Regions from separate parts of the Homo sapiens genome. Here all the other regions are linked to region 1. The links are contacts of gene promoters, found by promoter capture Hi-C in human tissues and cell types (Jung and others, 2019). All regions are on one chromosome and are shown on one strand. Each heading gives the region's core, a stretch centred on a gene start or on the middle of the fragment in contact. The rest is flanking DNA. Distances are from core to core; before and after follow the strand shown. Region 1 holds the start of CCR1 (C-C motif chemokine receptor 1). Region 2 has its middle 14 kb from the start of LTF. Region 3 overlaps SLC6A20 (solute carrier family 6 member 20).

What was found. The method cuts DNA at HindIII sites, captures the fragments that hold promoters and counts their contacts. A contact is called where the count stands out against the background at its distance.
Region 2: a contact is called between a fragment that was not itself captured here and the fragment with the promoter of CCR1 in region 1, in 4 of the 25 tissues and cell types used here (IMR-90 fibroblasts, aorta, bladder and 1 more).
Region 3: a fragment that was not itself captured here is called in contact with the fragment with the promoter of CCR1 in region 1 in 1 of the 25 tissues and cell types used here (bladder).

Annotation. Positions count from the first base shown.
Region 1 is chr3:46,206,991-46,210,599 of GRCh38, forward strand. It overlaps CCR1 (C-C motif chemokine receptor 1), which reads right to left and starts at 1,323. Exons shown (of 2, transcript NM_001295.3): 1 at 1,292-1,323. The HindIII fragment of the contact is 6,364 bases long and covers 1-3,208 here.
Region 2 is chr3:46,476,943-46,480,222 of GRCh38, forward strand. It overlaps a transcript of LTF not described here. Among named protein-coding and RNA genes, the nearest start is that of LTF, 14 kb to the left of the region's middle. RefSeq lists enhancers at 983-1,484, 1,485-1,984. The HindIII fragment of the contact is 7,156 bases long and covers 1-3,280 here.
Region 3 is chr3:45,761,451-45,764,783 of GRCh38, forward strand. SLC6A20 (solute carrier family 6 member 20) reads right to left here. Exons shown (of 11, transcript NM_020208.4): 9 at 1,463-1,622. Among named protein-coding and RNA genes, the nearest start is that of SLC6A20, 33 kb to the right of the region's middle. The HindIII fragment of the contact is 7,195 bases long and covers 1-3,333 here.

The DNA.
Region 1 (3,609 bases), core at 73-2,572:
TTATACTGGTTTATAAATGCCAATTGCGTGCATCTCTTCCCCACTCCACATTCAGCATGTTGGTAGCTTGAAACTGACCACAGTGGGGGCATTTATACCATGAAAATCAACAAATGTTATAAAGCAGGGATCTTTTCTTCAGAAGAGTCAGTTGTTGAACATTTACCAGCACATCACTGCCCAGGCCCCACATTCTGAACAGTCCAGCACTGTCCCACTGCTCGGTGCGGGAACTAAAGGATCAGTGAGTGGCACATAGCCTGGTGCCAGGTTGTGCAAACTTTTGGGAGTTTCCATCTCTTCTTTGAAATCTGGGACCCACCAAGACCACCTATGAAGTAGATACCTATACGGAGCCACCATGCCCCTCTATCTTCAGAACAAAATCCTGACCTGTGTCTTTGTTAGTAGAGCAGAACAGATGCCCCCCAAGATCACCTGGCCAGCTCCTTGCCTTTGGGTGAGTGAAAGCCTACCTCTTCCAAAGATAGCAGTGCCAATTTTGAGGATCCTTGGTTCTAGTCTTCTTAAGAGATAGGTTCAGTATCAAATCATCCTTGCATCTGCCAAGATTTTTCTAGCTAATATTTCCCTCTTGCTATAATTTCTTCATACACCATGTTTGGTTTTCCTTTACATGGGGGAATTTGGCAAGCAATTTTTTTTTTTTTTTCAGACAGACTCTTGCTCTGTCGCCAGGCTGGAGTGTAGTGGTGCAATCTCAGCTCACTGCAACCTCCACCTCCCGGATTCGAGTGATTCTCCTGCCTCAGCCTCTTGAGTAGCTGGGACTACAGGCATGCGCCACCATGCCCGGCTAATTTTTATTTTTAGTAGAGACAGGGTTTCACCATATGGCCAGGATTGTCTCCATCTCTTGACCTCATGATCCACCTGCCTCGGTCTCCCAAAGTGCTGGGATTACAGCCGTGAGCCACTGCGCCCCGCCAAGTAATTTCTTATTGAATAGGTTTCCACAGAAAACACCTTTTGTCCCTTAGTACTGACTGACTTTCTTAATCAGTAACCAAAAGCCAATCCTTCAAGTAAGCTTCCTTTTTAGCAAAAAAGCCTATATTTCATCTGAGCACCCAGCTTTATAAATCCACCATTCTCAGTATTGCTACAGTATTAATTGCCTTGGAGATGCATCCATGGGCTACTTAGACATTTGCCCAGCCTACTCAAAGAATTCCCCCTACCTTTGAGGAGCCCCTAGCTGCATGCATGTCTTTGAACAACACTGCCCTCCACAGTAACAGATAAGACAGAAAAGACAAGTGACACTTACTCTGGTTCCAAGGGACTTTGTCCGTGAAGTCTTTGTTTCTGGGGCTTTCTGGGTTTTTATGAATTCAAGTTTCAAGATCCTGACCAAGTAGGAAGTACTCAGCTTCCTGTGTGATGATGGAGAATTGGCTCCAGTTTCACAGTCTTTCAAAATGACAAGAAAGGGACAAAGTTCTTCTTTTTGTGTGGTTTGGTGCTCATGAATGGCCACAACGCCCACCAGTGGCCACTTCCTGGAAGCCAAGTTAACTGCGAGGATTTTCTCTGCTCACTCTGAGCCTCTTGAGTCTTGGCCCTGGGAGCTCAGCCTTAAGGGAATTGGGGGCAGGTGAAGCTGAGTTGGGTGAGGTGGGTGGCAGTGAGATGTTCCCAGAATGTTTGGAGCAATTGAAGTGTGGGATGTGTGTATGTGGGATGGGGGCAGGGCATAGAGCTCTTGTGGTCAGCGGCAGACTTCTTTTTTTTCTTCTTCTTAAAGATTGTGAATGGAAGGATTTAAACTGGAACCCTGAGTCCTGTTCCTCAAAACTAACTGACATGGGTGCTCACAGAGGCAGCAGCTTCTCTTTGGCACCCTATGCCCCTCGGCTTCTGGGAGCTCATTGTCCCTCTGCTCTCTGCTCCCCAAGTCCCTCCCCACCAAACCTCAGAGAGTGGCTTTGCCCCAGGAACCTCCAGCATGAAGGGAATATAGGTCTGTTGGTTACATTTTGACCTTCCCTTTCTGATGCCCCATTCCTGTTTTACGTGATGGTCAAACATGGGCCAAGTTCAAATCCCAGCTCTCCACCTGTGACATGGGCAGATCACTCACCTTTCTAAGTCTTGGTTCCTACTCTGCTAAATGGGAGTATTGAATGCTTACCTCAGAGGAGAAGCACGAAGTCAACTTGTACATGAAAAATGTCAGAGTGCCTGGCACAGTGAAAAATGTCTGACAAATGATGAGTACTGTGACTCTCCTCACAACTGCCAACACCTACTCTGCCTCTGCCCTTGTGTCTTCTATAAAGTGGGGACACCCCTAACCTTCCTCACGGCATTGCTACAAAGCACTGTTTCAGAAATCATCAGTGTGAATGTGCTTTGAAAAGATCACTTGTCTCTTCATGGTTCAGTTTTCTTATCTGTAAAATGAAGAATTCAGACAAGATGGCCTAAGCTTGACATCTGATCATCACTCAGCTTCACCCCAAAGAAATAAATGGGGGTCTGCATGTGCCTGGCTATTTGCAGTACTTTGCTGGTGGATCAGTTTCCAAAGAGAACAGAGGCTTGTGAGGCCTGCCTTTTCCTTGATCCTGTCTAAAGTAAGGGACATGGTCAGTACCTCATCCTTGACCAGGCTTCCAGCTCTGCTCTAGGTTTCATTCCACAGAGGGGATGTACCAGGCAAATCTGCTTGTTCATTGAACAAATATTTATTCAGTACTCACAATGTGCCGGACATTGTGTTAGGTGCTTGGGATATAGTGGTGAAGAAAGAGGCTGGATCCATTCTTTGAGAGCTTATAGCTTAGGAAGGATCACAAACAATTAACCAAGTTACCACAATGAGGAACAGCTTTTGTAGTGGCCTGGGAAATACCCTGGGCTAAGGAAGGGTGCATCGAGGGTGGGAAGGGGTGAGGAAGTCCTTTAGAGCAGTGGTTCTCAAAGTGAGGTCCCTGGACCAGCAGCATTCACATTCCCTGGGACATTGCTAGCCATGCAAGTTCTGGGGTTACATGCCAGATATACTGACTCAGAAATCCTGGGGATGCGGCCAAGCAATCCAGGTTTTGACAAAGACTGGCATGATTCTGATGCATGCTTAAATTTGGGGGGCATGGATCTAGATTTTCTCAATGCTTTTGGCTCAGAGTCCCATGTGATCTTTCTTCAGAAGAGTTAGGCTGGACCAGCTATGAGCTAGGAAGCCTTCTTTCTCTCTTTAGCTCAAGGCCTAAACAAGAGGCTGCTCAGTTGCCTGCTCTGTCTCCCCTCCCACACCCACACTCAGGTCTCCTATGGCCTTGCAAACCCCTTAGTGCACACACCCCTCTCACCACAGCAGATGTGTACAATGGGGGCAGCACAGAGAGACAAGAGAGAAACCAGCAAAGAGGGATGACCTTGCTCCATTCATTTCTCTTAAAAGCCCTTTGACTCCTCTCCTTAAAAGCTGTAGTGTTCTCTCAAGGTTGCCGTATTGTCCTTGATCCACATCAATGTTCCTCTTCCTTGGAGAGAAGGGGGAGATGTGGGCAGCTTCCTTTGCCCCAGAGAGGTTGCAGTGGAAGCCCAGCACTAAGCCAAACCCTGTCCTGAGACAGCCTT
Region 2 (3,280 bases), core at 534-3,033, 270 kb after region 1:
TAGATATTTTGGTCGTTTCTAACTTGGGGTTATTACAATGGTGCTGAAGCGAACATATGTATTCTTTTCTGTTGGTCATGTACTTAGGAATGGAGTTTTACAGCATATGACTACGTTCTGCTTTAGAAAATTCTGCTAGTTTTCCAAAGTTAATTGTAGCAATTCATATTCCCACCAATGTATATGAGAGTTCTAGGGGCTTCACATCCTTGCCAACACTGCCATTGTCTGTCTTTTTCATTTCAGCCACTCTGTTTGGGAATGTCTTTTGTCCATTGTTTGATTATTTGGTAAGGCTTTTTCTCATTGGCGGATAGTTCTTTCAATATTCTTCAGAGTCACCATTTCCCTCCACTTGCCTCTGTGAGGGAGCCCAGGGCTCCTCCTCCCTCAGCTCTTCTAAGCCCAGATGAAGCCTGGCCCTTCTGAGCACATCCCAAGGCCACACCTGCATTCTAGGCGACTCCCTTGTCCCTTTGATTCACTGGGTAGTCTGGTGCCTGAAAGGCAGGGTCAGTGATGAGAGTGGTTAAACATCGCAGGCAGGGGAGTTTGAAACCAGCTCTACCTCTTCCCCACTCCCCAGATCTAGCCACGTCATTCAGCCTGTCTCAGCTTCAGTGTCCCCATGTGAAAATAGGAATACTAAAAGCATCTCCCTCATAAAATTGTTAGAACTTAATGAAGTAACTTATAAAGATGCTTAGAACAGTGCCCAGCACATAGGGGCTGCTCAATCGATATTTTTTGAACGAAGGAATGGGTGTGTGAATTAATAAATGAATGGATGTAAGATTTTCAGTACAAGGCCAAACCATACAGTGAAAACTCAGTCAATATTAACTATTATTGTTATTGTTTCCATGCATTTCTGGTCCCCGTTGTGAGCCAGAACCTATGCAGAGTCCTGGGAATCTGCAAAGAGTTCCCTTTCCCCAGGCGGCTCCAGTTGAGTCACAATCCAACAGAAGGTGTTAGCAAAGGCAAGTTCACCCTACAGGGAGGACAGAGGGCCGAGCGGGAGCCACTTTCCCCAGTCTTCCTTCTCAAGCTAACCCAGCAGCGTGCCCCAGCCCTTTTACAGACATCTGTCTTTGTGATTCCTTGGGCCCCTCTCCACACCCACACTCCTTATGCCCACATTCTGTCCTGTTATCTGCAACCCTTTGTAACTCTTTCACTCCTCTCTCTTTTATGACGTCCACTTCTCTCTCCAGTTCTCTGTCTCTCTCACCATCATGCCCTCTTCCCGCCCCACTGCCCTGAGACTTTTCCTAATGGCCCCTCTCAGCAGCCTGGGCAGCCTCCTTGAATTTCTGCTCACCAGTAACCCAGCTGCGTCCCGACTGTCAGTCTTGGCTTTGCTCCACACATCTTCTCTCTCCCCCTCCAAGGGTCTCTGGGCTACAAGGGAAGCTTTCCCAGAACCCATGTGGCCACTCAGTCACTTCCCCAGAGGCTGAAGGTCGCTATGTTGGTGACAAAGGGCAGGTGACACACTTTGCTCTCCACAGTGCTATCAGCAGGCATGAGCAGGGTCCCTAGAGAGTGCCAGGGACCAAAGGGTGAGGCCAGGTCCACCCCGCTCTTAACCATCACTCCCCATCTTCCTGGACAGTGCAGCTGGATGAGGAAGCAGCCGCAGGATGCAACGTAGATGCTAGAGGGCCAAGGGGAGGACAGAAGAGGGTAGGGCAGAAGATGACTGGCAGAATGAGGAACTAGTGGGTGGGCCTGGGGACCTCGTAGATGAAGCAGAACCTGATGGCTATTTGGAAATGGAGGAAAGAGTCACAAAAGTGAGCAATTTCCAGGATATTTGGAAATATTCTGGCTTGAGGTTACTACCTTGAAATAATTTGACCAAGAAAATCAGACACTCTCAGAAAATAATATTTTTTATGCCATTTTACAAATGAGGTCTCTAAGCCCAGAGAGGGCGTGTGGCCTGCTCAGACCTGACACAGTGCGGCCAGGTAGAATCCAGCTTCCTGACTCCTTGCACTTAGAGGGGTTCCCTCAACTAAAGCCATCCTCACAGAGCATTTATCCTGGACCAGGTCCTTGTTAGGTACTGGGTCACCAAACTGAGTTAGACTCAGTTCTGCCCCCAAGGGCAACAGACAAGGGAATAGTCAGTTACCACCATAGGAGATGAGAATGTCCATGGACCACGGTAACAGAAGAAGCATGGAGAACCACGCCTGTGCCCAAGGCTCTGTGCGTGGTAGGGAATCTGCCTCCCACCTGTGGCAGCTCTGGAGGAGGGGCAGCCTGACCTGTGACAGGCAGGGAAAACCCCATAGCCCCCTCTCTCCCACCCTGGCATCTTCCAGCAACCTCCACAAAGTGGGTTTGGCCGGAACCAAGTGATTGAGGGGGAGATTACAGGGCCCGGGAATTGTGGGGCCCTGTGGGTACCTAGAAGACCATCTGCTTTTACTCTGAGGATGTAGGAGCCAAGGCAGAAGGCTGAGAATGGACTGAGAGGCAGAACAAGTGGGGAGCAGAGAGATGATTAGGGAGGCTCCAGCAGTGACCTGGGAGAGAGATGAAGTGGCTTTTCTGTTTGTTTGTTTGTTTGTTTGTTTGTTTGTTTGTGACAGAGTCTCGCTCTGTCACCCAGTCTGAAGTGCAGTGGCACGATCTCAACTCACTCCAACCTCTGCCTCCAGGGTTCAAGCGATTCTCCTGCCTCAGCCTCCCAAGTAGCAGGGATTACAGGCAAGTGCCACCACCCCTGGCTAATTTTTGTATTTTTAGTAGAGACGGGGTTTCACCATGGCTGGTTTCTAGGCTGGTCTCGAACTCCTGACTTCAAGTGATCTACCCACCTCAGCCTCCCAAAATGCTGGGATTACAGGCGTGAGCCACTGCGCCCGGCCAGAAGTGGCTTTGATTAGGATGTGGCAGTGGAGAAATAGTGAGATGGCTGGATTCTTGACATATTTTAAAGGAGGAGGTCATGGGATTTGCTTACATTACAAGGGGATGTGGGGTGTGAAGGAGAGAGGTGGATGATGGCACCAAGGTGTTTGGCCTGAGAAACTAAAAGGAGGTAGTTTCATTAACTGAGATGGGGAAGACTGGGAATAAAGCAGATTGAGGAGGAGGTGGATCAGAAGCTCCATTCTAATCATGGTAAGACTGACAGACCCCGGACACCCAGGTGGATCGTGGAAGAGCCAGCTCCCTGACTCGCTGCCATTCAGAATGGCATTGTTGCTATAAAAGCCAAAGTTAGAGGCCTTGAACTTTATTTAAAACTAATTTTTGGACC
Region 3 (3,333 bases), core at 83-2,582, 450 kb before region 1:
CATCTAGTGACCTCCAGCGGGCCCTAGGTTCTGTTCCTCTCTCCCAACCTTCTCTTTTTATCCTGAAACACTCACCCTCTCAGTGACCAATCTCTTTCTCCCTCTAGACTGGCATTTCCTAGGTGACCAGGGATTTTCCCAATTTTAGTACTGAAAGTTCCACGTCCCAGAAAACCCCTCAATCCTGGGGAAACAGGGAGAGTTGGTCCCCTTAACACTAGTGTCCTCAAAATGTTAGTAGCTAAGGGTGGGAGTCGGGTGAGAGGAGGGTGAAAAGGCATTCCTTGACCAAGTAAGTCTGGAAATGCTGCAATTCTAACCCTCTCTTTGGGATCCACAACTGTCTTTAAGATTCTGAGAAGTCCTACGGGAAAGACATCAATTTGGCTTTGTTTAACTTATGTCCTGATGGATCATGGGAGATCCCTCAGCATGGCACGGGACCCTGGCCTTTCCGGGGACACAGCAGGGATTGCTGCTTCAGGGATGCCTGCCTCCCAGAGTGTTGTCAATGTCTCCCTCCCCACCCTGAACCAGCACAGAGGATCAAAAAGACTGGGGAAGAGGGCAGAAAACAACGTGGCACAGCCTCCTCGCCCAAACCGCACCCACTAGAGCAGCGCTGCCCAAACTGTGATGTGCCTCAGGCCCCCTGGACATAGTGTGAAGATACAGGATCTGATTCAGCAGGATGGGGTGGGCCCGAGCTTCTGCAGTCCCAACGAGCGCCTTGTTGCTGCTGCTCCCGCTCTAGGGACCACACTTGAGGTAGCAAAGCTCTCTAGGCCAGTGGTTCTCAAAGTGTGGGTGCCAGACTCATCTGGGAACCTGCTAGAAATGTGAATTCTTGGCCCTCCCCTGGCCTGCCTGATCAGAACCCTGGGGGTGAGTCTCACAGCTGTGTTTGACCAGCCCAAGGGACTCTGAGGCACACTCGAGTTTGAAGGTTGCTCTAGACCAGTGGCTCTTGCCCCAGCTGCACATTCCATCACCTGGGGAGAACTAAAACATTCCAGTCCCGTGCTGTGCACTGGGATTGAGAACCTCACTGACTAAATTTTGAATCTGCCAAATTTTCTAAGGTCTAAGTTATCAACTGGACTTTGGTCAGGGTTCTTGGAAAATACTGATGTTGGCCGATGATCAGAGCATCCAGTGCCTGGAGGCACAATTCCCTGCCCCAGTAAGCTGTGGGGGTCCAGCAGGGTCAACCCTAAAACAGCCTATGATACAAAGCAAAAGTACAGGGAATAGAGAAAAAGATATTCACTGAAGCAAACTGAGCATGGAATAGAGGCAGAGCATAAGCTGAGATCTGCGGGCAAAGAACAAACGTTGAGTCATGATGCGAAGCTTAAAGAAGAGGTGAAGATGTGCATCAAGAAACAGCTGTTTTCCTTGAGGGGCGTGGCCTCTGTGGCTGTGTTTTCCCTATGCAAATGAGGGTCCTGGGCCTCCTCACCTCCTCAGCCCGTACACGTAGCACACGGCAATCGTCTCCACCAGCACGATGAGCAGCAGGGACAGTGTGGCCGCGTAGTCGTTGAATATGTCAAACCAGTAGTTCCCAGCCTCCATCGTGAACACCATGCCAATGGCACAGTTGACAAGGCACACCAGACCTGGGGGCCACAAGACCAGCTGCTCACCTGCCCGAGACCCCCCCACTACTGCTTACCAGTTCTCTACAGGACAGTGGGGTCGTCGGCCCTCAGGGAATTTTGGCTGATTGCTTCATCCACATGGGTTGAAAGAGCTGTCATGGTTTGGACTCTCTGAAGGTGTGTGCCACGTGTGTGGGGCAGGGGGCACAATGGTGTCCCGAAGCGTGTTGGCAGGGGTCACTGATGTTGACTCACTGAGCTGCCCTGCAGGGGTGGCAGAGCTTAAAGCTCAATGAACAAGCAGACGTAGTGGGCACTGTCATTCCAGGATCCCGCCCAGGCTGTGGGTCTACAATTATAACCCCCGCTGTTTATCCCAACAACTCAGCCCTGGAGCTCATGAGAAATGAATCAGGGGAGGAGGCTTGAATATGGAGTGGCCCCATCAGGACTTCCTAGAGAGGACTTGCCTCCACCCAGAAGAGGGTGGGGCAGGGAAGAGACAAATGTCCACCCAGATCCTCCCTTGTGCCAGGCACTTGCAATGCGTTGGACCCTTAGGCCTCTGAGGCAGGTGTCCGGAGCCCCCTTTCACAGATGGGAAGGCAAGGCTCAGAGATGTCTAAGGCTCCCCCGACATCCCATAGCACATCCATGGCAGAGTGAGGATTCAGACCCAGGCCCTTTAGCCTCCAGAACCTGGGCCTTCATCCCAGGCCCCTCCAGCTGCCTTCCCTGGGGACCCCATGCATGTCTGAGTCTAGAGCCCACACCTGCCCTTTCCACTAGCACACCGTACACTGCCAGCTACCGAGCCCTCCTGCTATCCCGACGGGGACACACAAGGAGAAAGGGGCCATGCGCTGGCTGAAGGCTATGGGCACACCTAGTGTTGGCTACAAAGACCAGGCCTGAGGAGGGGGTCTAAGTGCTGCAGCACTCTGAAGAGGTGGGGGCAACTCCAACTGGAGTGGTCGGGGCTTGAAGGAGATGGCCTGGGAGCTGGGTTTGATTCATCCTGCATGTCAAGGAATGGTGTTTTCAGAGACGGAGTAGTGTAGGCCACAGGGTCCTTGAGGCACTGCCTGATTGGAGTGGAGCAGATGGGCCAGGGAGTGAAACCATGAGAGATGTAATTGGAAAAGCCAGCTCATTTCCTAAGATCTGAAATGTCCATCAACAGCAGAATGGATAAAGAAACTGTGGTATGTCACCTTACAATGGATTATTGTATAGGCACAAAAAGGGGCAGACGATCGCTGCTCGAAACAACATGAGTGGATCTCACAGGTAGATTCTGAGTGAAGACAATAGACGTAGAGTGTGTACAATAGGACTTCGTTCATATGAAATTCAGGAACAGGAAGGCCAGGCGCAATGACTCATGCCTGTAATCCCAGTATTTTGGGAGGCCAAGGCAGGCAGATCACTTGAGGTCAGGAGTTTGAGACCAGCCTGGCCAACACGGGGAAACCCCATCTTTACTAAAATACAAAAATTAGCCAGGCATCATGGTGTGCACCTATAATCCCAGCTACTCAGGAGGATGAGGCACGAGAATAGCTTGAGCCTGGGAGGTGGAGGTTGCAGTGAGCCAAGATCGCACCATTGCACTCCAGCCTGGGTGACAGAGTGAGACTGTTTCTTTAAAAACAAAAAAAAAAAAAAAAGGAAAAAAACCCCTAAAATGTAGAAGTCAGAAATAGAGGTGAACTCCAGGGGTGCATAC